Regions from separate parts of the Homo sapiens genome. Here regions 1 and 3 are each linked to region 2. The links are contacts of gene promoters, found by promoter capture Hi-C in human tissues and cell types (Jung and others, 2019). All regions are on one chromosome and are shown on one strand. The core of a region is centred on a gene start or on the middle of the fragment in contact, and the rest is flanking DNA. Distances in the headings are between cores, read along the strand shown. Region 1 holds the start of RIF1 (replication timing regulatory factor 1). Region 2 holds the start of STAM2 (signal transducing adaptor molecule 2). Region 3 overlaps PRPF40A (pre-mRNA processing factor 40A).

The links. Contacts are between HindIII fragments. The study calls those that stand out against the background at their distance.
Region 1: a contact is called between the fragment with the promoter of RIF1 here and the fragment with the promoter of STAM2 in region 2, in 1 of the 25 tissues and cell types used here (stomach).
Region 3: a fragment that was not itself captured here is called in contact with the fragment with the promoter of STAM2 in region 2 in 1 of the 25 tissues and cell types used here (lymphoblastoid cells).

What each region holds. Positions count from the first base shown.
Region 1 is chr2:151,407,821-151,411,247 of GRCh38, forward strand. RIF1 (replication timing regulatory factor 1) reads left to right here and starts at 2,082. Exons shown (of 36, transcript NM_018151.5): 1 at 2,082-2,213; 2 at 2,594-2,707. The coding sequence starts at 2,604. RefSeq lists enhancers at 993-1,691, 1,692-2,390, 1,995-2,154 and a silencer at 995-1,289. The HindIII fragment of the contact is 11,212 bases long and covers 1-3,427 here.
Region 2 is chr2:152,173,515-152,177,116 of GRCh38, forward strand. It overlaps STAM2 (signal transducing adaptor molecule 2), which reads right to left and starts at 2,249. Exons shown (of 14, transcript NM_005843.6): 1 at 2,089-2,249. The coding sequence starts at 2,128. It overlaps LOC105373689 (a long non-coding RNA gene), which reads left to right and starts at 2,019. Exons shown (of 3, transcript XR_923477.3): 1 at 2,019-3,043. RefSeq lists enhancers at 1,787-1,836, 1,887-2,026, 2,187-2,710, 2,187-2,606. The HindIII fragment of the contact is 11,387 bases long and covers 1-3,602 here.
Region 3 is chr2:152,696,101-152,699,593 of GRCh38, forward strand. All of the region lies in intron 2 of PRPF40A (pre-mRNA processing factor 40A), which reads right to left. Among named protein-coding and RNA genes, the nearest start is that of PRPF40A, 20 kb to the right of the region's middle. The HindIII fragment of the contact is 9,200 bases long and covers 1-3,493 here.

The DNA of each region.
Region 1 (3,427 bases), core at 832-3,331, 770 kb before region 2:
TTCTCACAGAATTTATGTTCTAATGAATGGGTAGAGGCAGGCGTGGTGGCTCAAGTCTGTAATCCCAGCACTTTGGGAGGCCGAGGCGGGCTGATCACGAGGTCAGGAGATCAAGACCATCTTGGCCAACATGGTGAAACCTGTCTATACTAAAATACAAAAAATTAGCTGGGCGTGGTGGCGCATGCCTGTAATCCCAGCTACTCGGGAGGCTGAGGCAGGGGAATCGCTTGAACCCAGGAGGCGGAGGATGCAGTGAGCTGAGATCAGGTCAGTGCACTCCAGCCTGGGTGATAGAGCGAGACTCCGTCTCAAAAAAAAAAAAAAAAAAAAAAAAAAAAAAAATATATATATATATATATATATGTATATGTATATATGTATGTGTGTGTGTGTATATATATAAATATATGTAAATAAATATAAATATATATAAATACATATAAATAAATAAATATATATATAAGCATACTATGTATGTACTGCGTCGTTTGGCAGTCATTTTGCTAAGTGCAGATGACACAAAGAAGAGCAAAAAGCAACATCCCACTTCTAGAGCTGAGAGTTGCAGCACATGTGAGTGAGGGCTCAAATCCTGGGCCAGGAACCCATGATGGAGAGTTCCATTGCTGCTGGGCTTCATGTGTCTGATTTAGAGTTAATGCAATCCTGTCTGTTGTGGAGAGTGCACGAAGGCATATGAAAAGGGGAGAAGCAGACCGGGCGCGGTGGCTCACGCCTGTAATCCCAGCACTTTGGGTGTCCGAGGCGGGTGGATCACGAGGTCAGGGGTTCGAGACCAGCACGGCCAAGATGGTGAAACCCCGTCTCTACTAAAAGTACAAAAATTAGCCAGGTGTGGTGGCGGGCGCCTGTAATCCCAGCTGCTCGGGAGGCTGAGTCAGAGACTCGCTTGAACCCGGGAGGCAGAGGTTGCAGTGAGCCGAGATCGCACCACTGCACTCCAGCCTGGGCGAAAGAACGAGGCTCCGTCTTAAAAAAAAAAAAAGGCGGGGGAGGAGCAGCATATTCACAGTAAGGAGAAATGACTGTCATTGTGTTTACTGACGTTTCTCTAGGGAAGAAGCCCTGGCCAAATCCCACCCTTCAACCCCCCAGGGGCCTAACAGAAGAATGCACATCCTCGGGAGCTACCTAAATCTACTGAATTACAATGCATATGGGCGGGGCCCAGGAATCTGCAGTTTAATAACGAATATCCCCAGGCCATTGTTATGTACGCTTAAGACCTGAGAACCATTGGCCTCTCCAACCTTTTCTCACTTCACCTATTAAAAGCCCTATTTTATAGAGGAGGAAATTGAGGCATAGGTTAATTAACTTGCTAAAGTCACATGGAACCTAGACCAGCTGGAATCTAGACCAGCTTGAGATACAGTTCTTTTCTTTTTCTTTCTTTCTTTTTTTTTTTTTTTGAGAGACGGAGTCTTACTCTTACTCTGTCGCTCAGGCTGGAGTGCAGTGGCGTGATCTCGGCCCACTGCAACCTCCGCTTCCCGGGTTTAAGCGATTCTCCTGCCTCAGCTTCCCAAGTGGCTGGGACTACAGGCGTGCGCCACCACACCCAACTAATTTTTGTATTTTTGTTTTTTTTAAGTAGAGACGGGGTTTCACCATGTGTTGGCCAGGCTGGTCTCGAACTCCTGACCTCAGACTCGGCCTCCCAAAGTGCTTGGATTACAAGGTGTGAGTCACCGCGCCCGGCCAGCTCTTAGTCTTAAACCCAACAGTACGTTATCTCCTTTTGCTAACTGATTTGTTGCTAAAACTTCAACAAGCACTGGACTTGGAGTTTGAACACTTAGTCTGAGGGCCCACTATGTTCAGTCTAGTGAGTCTGAGCAATTAACTCACATTTTGAATTTCAAGTCTCTCGCCTTAGGCAAAACACCACCACCTGATGCTCACCAGAGGGGCGTGACGCGGCAGCTGGGCAGGGAAGGGATGGGAAGGGATGGGAAGGGAGGCGATCGATAACTCCGGTGTGCCGCTGACTGTTGGATTGGCTCGAACTTCTCCCGCCAGGCCTAACCTACTCCCGCGCACTCCTGGGCCCGCCCAGCCGCCATCTTGGTCTAGGAGGGAGCGCGCCGCACGCGTGAGTAAACAGCCGGAGCTGGGAAAGTCGAGCTCTGGCAGCGTCTGGGTGCTGAGGGGCAGAGGCGGAGAGAACCCTGTCCTGATCTTCCTAGGTGGGATAAATATCGGGGTGACAGTGGTAGGCCGCGGGGAACCCTCAGTCTGCCCACCCTCCGCCCCCTCGCGGCGAGATGCCTCGTTCCCCGGGCTTCTCCCGCCCTCCGCCGATCTCCTCCCTCTGTTGAAAGCTGCCCGGGAAAGTGGTGGCGGGAGCGGGCCCAGGCCCGAATGTGGCGTGGGCTCAGGTGTCTGGTGTCGGGCGCCGGAGGAGGTTCGCGCTGGGGTTTGGTGATTCGGAGGCCTGGGGTGCAGACGCGGCGTGGCTGTGAGGCCCGGGCGGGCGTGCGGGTGTGAGGGCCGGACTCACACTGGGCCGCCGCGGGGCTGTTTCCATCGGTCACTGGATTTTCTCCTCTTCCGGTTCGGGCCTCAGGGTGGCCGACATGACGGCCAGGGGTCAGAGCCCCCTCGCGCCGCTGTTGGAGACTTTGGAAGACCCTTCTGCCTCCCATGGAGGGCAGACTGACGCTTACCTGACTCTGACCAGGTGAGGTCCGCCACGGGGCGTAGCGGAGAGTGGGGCGCTCTATAGTGGGGAGAAAGAAGGTGGTTGGGAGGGGCGCGTAGAATGAATGTGAGTTCTAGAAGTCTAGCAAATGTGAGGACGCCCGAGTCGCGGACGCCTTGGGGGGCGGGGGAGATGTATTCTAGGTGACGTTCCCGGGTACTGCTGCTGCTGCGCTTGAGGTGTGTGTTTGGAACGAGGGAGCATGCACGTGTGTTTTGCAAGCGAGGGATTTTTAAAAGTTTCGGTTGGAAGTAGTTGTTGGAGGAGGGGTCTTCAGTGTAAACCTCCGATGTGTTGGGAAAATGTGGCTACCCAGAGTTTTTTTAACAGAGCAATACACTGATTTTTATTAATTGCAAAATGCTTCAAAGTAATTTTCATAGAAATGTACTAAAGTTTTGTAAAACCCTTTGGAAAGGCTTAGCAAATCGTTAGTAACTAGGAATAGGGATCCCTGTTCTGTCTTTTTGGAGTCAGGTTGTCACAACTTGCATGTACTCGATGTAAAAACTTATTCTGAGGGTTTTTCTACTTTCATTTCTGATATATATTGCATTATATATTCTGTATACCCTTAAGGACCTTACCTACTGGGTCAATTCATTTGCAGGAGTTAGAAAGTAATTTTTAAAAAGATTGTACATGTATTTTTGAGAGTATTTTTTTTTTTCCTGTCAACTACTTAAACTTGTGTTCTTC
Region 2 (3,602 bases), core at 999-3,498:
GCCTCCCCAGTAGCAGGGACTACAGGCACGCGCCACCATGCCTGGCTAATTTTTTGTATTTTGGTAGAAACGGGGTTTCACCATGTTGGTCAGGCTGGTCTCAAACTCCCGACCTCCAGTGATTTACCCGCCTCGGCCTCCCAAAGTGCTGGGATTACAGGCGTGAGCCGCTGCGCCTGACCCTTGCTTTGTATTAACGATTTGAAATGAAAAGTTTTAAGATATTAAAAACGTAATATATAATTTTTCTTCTATGATATACGTGCAAGTCCAATTTGAGCTCTTTAGTATTTCATTCTACTTTTTCTAATTCCATTCTCTTGTCCAGAAGTTACAGGAGGGCCTCAAATTCATTCTTTCACCCTTAAAATGCCTTTGGGGTTCTGAATTCAGTCATGCTTAAGCTAATATGTAACTACTTGAAGCTCTGGCTTATGGCACTGGCCATAAAATAATCTAGACACAGTTTTTTTGTTTGTTTGTTTTTTTAATCTCAACAGCAGTGCCTCCTTTACAACTGTAGGACTAAACTGTGATCCACTAAACCAATGCTGGGGCCTCGGGAGCCAGGCAGGGAAAGGTTTAGAACAGAACAGACAGAGCAACTCTGCCTACTTGTACCAGAGAATTTTTCCATCAGAAAACAATGAACTTTCAAGAAAAATTTATATTGAAGAAAAGAATTCACGGTTTTTAAGTTTTAAAATCATTTGTCTAATTCTATTTTGCGCCTTCTGTTTTATTTCATTAGAACAGAATCAAAGTGTTCATAATAGCAATTTTTTAAAAGTACAGGTTGCACAAAGGTTGTATGATTCAAACAAAAGAATACTGCAATGAGGCGTTCCAAAAGGAAACAGTGAGCCTTAAGAGTGATGTTTCCCAGATTTACGCCAGTCACCTGTATTCATCCACCAAAAAAAAAGTTTAATGAAGTAAGGAACATACATATTTGAACTATTTACATATATTATTTGACTCAAACATGTTTTTTAAAATGGCTTAGGGGATTACACAACGTATCAGAATAGGGCACTTTCTACAGTCTCCTAATAACCAAATGTTAACTATGAAACAGGGGAATTACTGCTGAGATGTGCAGTATTCTTCTGAGTCTCCCCGCCCCAACCCCATTTCCAAGTTCTAAAAATTTACCTAGGGTTCTGTTAACTACTGCTACAAAAACAAACAAAAAACAAACCTGTAGTCCCAGCTACTCGGGAAGGGGAAACGGAGGTGGAGGCTGAGGTGGGAGGAATTCTAGTCGCACCTGGGCAACATAGTGAGACCCAGACTTTCGAGAATACATACATATATTTCTCAGTTTGTTTTAGTGTTACTCAAATTTCCTAAATAATTTCGTATATATCTTATCCATGTTTTTCTCATTCTATAGTCACTGAGAGACCAGCGCTTTATGACTGCAACATGTAAAATACTTGTTGTTCTGGAGTGTTTTGAGACTGGAGATTTCCTTTTCATACTCTAAAACCGAACATCTCCTAGCACCCGCGCAATCTTTGCAATCCGGGGATGAAGAGCAACACCTTTACAATTGTAATAAATCTTAAAGCTACCCTATCAGGGATTGAATGCATGAGTAATATAAATAATGGGGAAGTAAGTTCTTCCTATTCAATGCGGTTGTCTAGGTGTCAAGTGTCTAGTGTTGGGCTTCTCTAGACAGCAGGGTCTCCACTGCTGCATCATCTTCAGAAAACGATGGGGCAAAGACGGAGGTAACCAGCTGTCGAACGAGCAGGAAGTTTTTAATCACCAACTCCACAACTACTTAATCAGTCCAGTCTCCAGCGAGCCCTAGGCTCTTCCCAAATCCTACGCTTGGCAAGGAGAACGGCCCTTTGAGGGTCCCCAAACTCAGGCGGCAGGAAGCACTCCCCAGACCGCTAGCGACGCGCCGAGGTTGCCCCAGAAAAATCCCAACGTCGAAGGAGCGGGCGGCACCGCCCCTCCCCTCCCTTCGCTTTGCTTCCTAGTCCCCGGAGTCGCTACCGCCCACTTTCTAGCCGGACAAACAGCAGTCCAGGGCCAGGCACACAGCAGTCCAGGACCGGGCACAGCACTCACCCACGTCTTGCTCGAAGGGGTTGGCGGTGAACAAAGGCATCTCGCCGGCGCCCGAGCCCTAGTCGCTGCTGTCTAGCTGACACTCAGCAACTGCTACCCGCCGGGTGACCCGCGGCCGCGGCTCCCTAGACCGCTCCGCTTCGGCCTCCGTCCCTGCACTTCCGCCACCGCACCTGCCCGGCTCTTGCCTGACAGGCCGGCTCGGAGTCCACCCTTCGATCCCGCGCTCCTGTCCCAACTTTTCTCCCGGGGCGAGATCCCTCCGACCATGGGCGTCCTCCCAAGGCCTTTGTCGCTGCCCCTGTCCCAGACTTTTGTAGGGGTCAGGCGGCCGCTACGGCCACCTTTCCAGCGCTAGGACCCCGGCTAGCCACGAAGCCGGGGACCTTCGGAGCCGGAAGTAGTCCCGCCTGGAACTGGACGACCCCGGAAGCTGCAGTGCCAGCGGCGGCGCGGCAGGGGGCGCGGTTACCCGTGGTTTTTCGCGTTGGACGACGGGCTCTGAGGGCCAAGTTCTTGTCACGAATTTAGTTTGTTTCAGAGCGGCAGGACTCGTAGCTAGAGAACGAGGACCCACGACGCGTACGCGTTACAGTCCTGTTTCCCTAGAAACGGAGCTGCCGGCGCGGAGGTGGCTTTGAGATTCTGCGAAAGACCTGACTGCTCTTCAACAATTATTGTGTTGCACCCTCCCAGGCGCCCAGTCCAAACCCCGTCAGAATAACCACCCGGGACAGCGGTGGTCGAAGTAACTACGCCTAACTTTTCGCTTTCCATCGTGTCCCCTCCATAAAAACACTGCTGGGCCCCCGGAATCCAAAGGCGAAGGAGGCACACTCCCTGCCTTAGACTTGTTGAGAGTTTTATAGGGGCAGTGCATAACGTACATGATGGTGTATGACGATTCGGATGGTAGTACGAGTCATAAACTCAAATTCCAACAGCATCCAGCCAGGTATTTAAATGAATGCAAAAGCCCAAGCACCCTTCCCACCCACATATTCTCTGTTCCTCTTAGAAAACTGTAGTAATGATTATGTTGCCTGTCTCTCCTCCTCATTAGATTATAAACTCCCTGATAAGTTTTGGTCACTACTATATCCCCAGCGTCTAAAACAGTGTCCCAAGTAATAGACGCTCAATGCTTTTCGAATGAAGCTGTAACTTTCTAACTGAACAGTGCGTATCTAAAGATGTCAACTACTGGTAAATTGCAGCCATTTATTGAAATGTGGGTCCTACTAGAGTTTGCAATTTTTCAATGATGTTTAAATGTTGAGAATTACTCCAACATTTTAAATAATAGATTAATCAAAACCATTTTACAAACTCTAGTATAAAGACCTGATGCTATAGAGAGCTCATACACATTCAGAAAGGTGGTTGCATTTTATAAAGTTCGGGGCACAAATGAGAAGGAATCGTGCAGAAGGGGCTGTTTTTCATAGAACGTTGAACCTAGGGATGTTCAAGATAAATTGGGAGGCCGGGCATGGTGGCTCACGCATGTAATC
Region 3 (3,493 bases), core at 200-2,699, 520 kb after region 2:
GGTCTGAAAACTTAGAGAGAAAAACTAATCAAAGTAACTTCTCGGAAGAATTAAAGGTATTTTTTAAAGTAGAGTAAAATCTGCATAATGCAATAGAACAGTCTCTCGCCGGGCGTGGTGGCTCACTCCTGTAATCCCAACATTTTGGGAGGCCAAGGCAGGCGGATCATGAGGTCAGGAAATCGAGATCTTCCTGGCTAACACGGTGAAACCCGTCTCTACTATAAATACAAAAAATTACCCAGGCATGGTGGCACGCGCCTGCAGTCCCAGCTACTTGGGAGGCTGAGGCAGGAGAATCACTTGAACCTGGGATGCGGAGGCTGCAGTGAGCTGAGATTGCGCCACTGCACTCCAGCCTGGGCAACAGAGAGACTTCGTCTCAAAAAAAAAAAAAAAAAAAAAAAAATTCTCTTATGGTAGCAGCAGACTGTACAAATAAATATAAATTCAAATTGAAATATCCTGACTTTATCACACACATAAAGATAAAATCTTCTTTAAAACCAAAGCCACAAAAAAACAAATATTTAAGAGTTTAGTAGACCAGGCCAATGAGACCTCCAGTAGGCAGTAATTGAAAATCACTGAAGAACATAGAGTCTGACAGAGTTCTCTCTTTAATTGTTCTTCTTCCCATACCTAAAATGTTTAAACACCTCAAAAATGTTCTTTCAGACTGGAAATCATGGTATTGATTATAGAATGAGATTTAATGTCAAATAAAAAGCTACATTCTCCCTTGGTATCTCTGTAAATACTGGGGGTGAAGACTAGTTAATCTTGTTTTACCCAACAAACTAATCTGCAAGTCCTAAATTAAATATAACTGAATATCCTGAGAGTAAATCGATCATTCATTAATGTAATTTAAACCAAAACTGTGATGTTTACATAAAACCAAAGAACAAAACCACAAATATGCAAAATACTGTATTTTGTATGAAAAACTATTGTAAGAATTTGAGAAATTTAGAGTTCCTTTAGAGGACTGAGCATCCCAGAAAAGTCTGTTTTTCAAAGTCTAAAAAACCTACTTTGTGGCAATGTTATGATTCCCATTTTCTATTAATTCTAGGATATACATAACATAGAGATACTTTTTATAATCTCTTTCTTTGAAGCTGAATCTTTTAAAGAATTTGTGTTGATTTATGCCAGTCACTTTGGCAGCACCATCAATCTGAGACCATTAAAAGTTTCTAAGCTATCTATAACACTTACTGTTAATGGGAATACAGGATGCAAACTTATGAGAATTGGCTACGGCTCAACTCCTCAGACGTGATTTTTTCCTCCCTCATCCCAATAATAAGAGTTAAAACATTCAAATTTCTTTACTGTCTCCTCTGGCATGGTAGGTATAGTTCTTCTTTCCATGGAGGGTATAGCCCTTTGGTGTCTCAACTTTATCTGTTGAGTAAGTTTCAGATTTTCCATTTAGGTGTTTTTTTTTTCCCACTTTTAGGGGCACATAAAATACAGTCATGTGTCATTTAATGACCGTATGTTCTGAGAATTGTGTCATCAGGAGATATCATCATTGTGTATCATATAATGCACTTACACAAACCTGGATGGTTATAGTCTACTACACATCTAGGCTATTATGGCATAGCCTATTACTCCTAGGCTACAAACCTTTATAACATGTTACAGTACTGAATACTGGAGGCAACTGTAACACAATGCTAAGTATTTGTATATCTAGACATAGAAAAGACATAGTAAAAATAAGGTAGTATATGATCTAACAGCACCACCATTGTGTATGTAGTCTGTCATTTACCAATATGGCACTATGTGGCACACAAATGTAATACTGTGTCTCTCCATTTAAGTTCAATGAAAATGGGATGTTGCTTCAAAATACTGAAGGTGAAAAATTATTAACTTAGTTGCTACAATAACGCCACAACAAATTCCATGAGCCACATCATTCTTAAGGCTACAAAGTGGTAGAGTTCATATTTACTTAATGTGAAGCATACTATAAAATCAAAACCATGTACTGCTTTACAAATTCCCATTTAAACAACTTTGGTATTATATGTAAAAGTGCTGTAATTAAAAATTTTTAGTTGTTTGAGACATAAACTAAATTTCCTAAAATGTTAAACATCTGAATATTATGAACAATTTGGCACCTTTAAAAAACGTAGCTGATATATATTTTATACAATTCATAAGTGGCCAACCATATGTATATTTATACTATGTAAACCATTTCTGTTTCCTATTCTTTTAATACGTATAAAACTAATTATCAAGATGTTCTCAGAAGAATCATCAGTTTGAGGAAAATAAAAAATAAATGAACAAAACACTAGGGAGCATCACACAACCTGTTCAGTCATTCTGAGCATCCCAGAAAGTTTCTAATGTTAGATATAAACAAACATATTTCATTTATCACTCTACATATTTTAAAAAATGAAAATAAAAAGTGGTAGTAATGAAGCAATATCAATGCTACAGTGAGTGAATTTTACAAAGTGTAAATTCAGTTGGTCCAATTTTACCATGATATGAAAAGAAAGCACCTTAAAAGTGAAGAACTTCACATGGGGACTTCACAAGTTCTTTCCTTCATAGTTATTTACTGAAGTTTTTCCTACCGGAAAGAAATCACAAACAATTGGACGTATCTCTTGTCTAGTATTACAAACAAAATCACCTGAAAAAAAAATTAACTCCTAAATCTGGTGGTTTTTTAAAAACCATTCTTGCTGCAAACCTGTAGCAGCAAATTGATAATCTAAGTAAGTTTCATGTCTACCTTTTTACTTGGGGTTCTTCATAAGTGTGCTAAAGTAAAATTCCGTAAGATAAGTACAACCTACAAAGGCTGTTTAGTATTTTAAAACAACTATCTCATATACCACTAAATTATTTTATGAACATATAAATAAATACCAAAAATCCTGAATAAATGCACAAACTGAATCTTTAAAGAGAACTAAACATTCATTCGATCGGAAATAAATGGAAATATCCTTAGCAACCAAAAGTAACTGGTGGCATTTTGTGGAAATCATTTAACCTACTTCCTCTTCATCTAAAGCAAGCCTGTCCAACCTGCAGGCCATGGGCCACATGTGGCCCAGGACAGCTTTGAATGTGTCTCAACACAAATTTGTAAGCTTTATTAAAACATTGTTTTTTTGGCTGTTTTTTTTTTTAAGCTCATCAGATATTGTTAGTGTTAGTGTATCTGATGAGTGGCCCAAGACTATTATTCTTCTTCCAAATGGCCCAGGGGAGCCAAAAGATTGGATACCCCGATCTAGAGCAATATAAATTCAAAACATCATTTTTTGATAAGAAATATTTAGATAAATAAAGGGTAGACAATATTTGTACAAATTGTTATCATGCAGAATAGAACCTTACCATGTAATAAAACAAGTGCCAGTATTCAAAATTTGCTAAACTTTCTCAACCTACAGAATTTAGAACTGCTGAAGTACAGCAACCCCTTCAGGGTCTAACG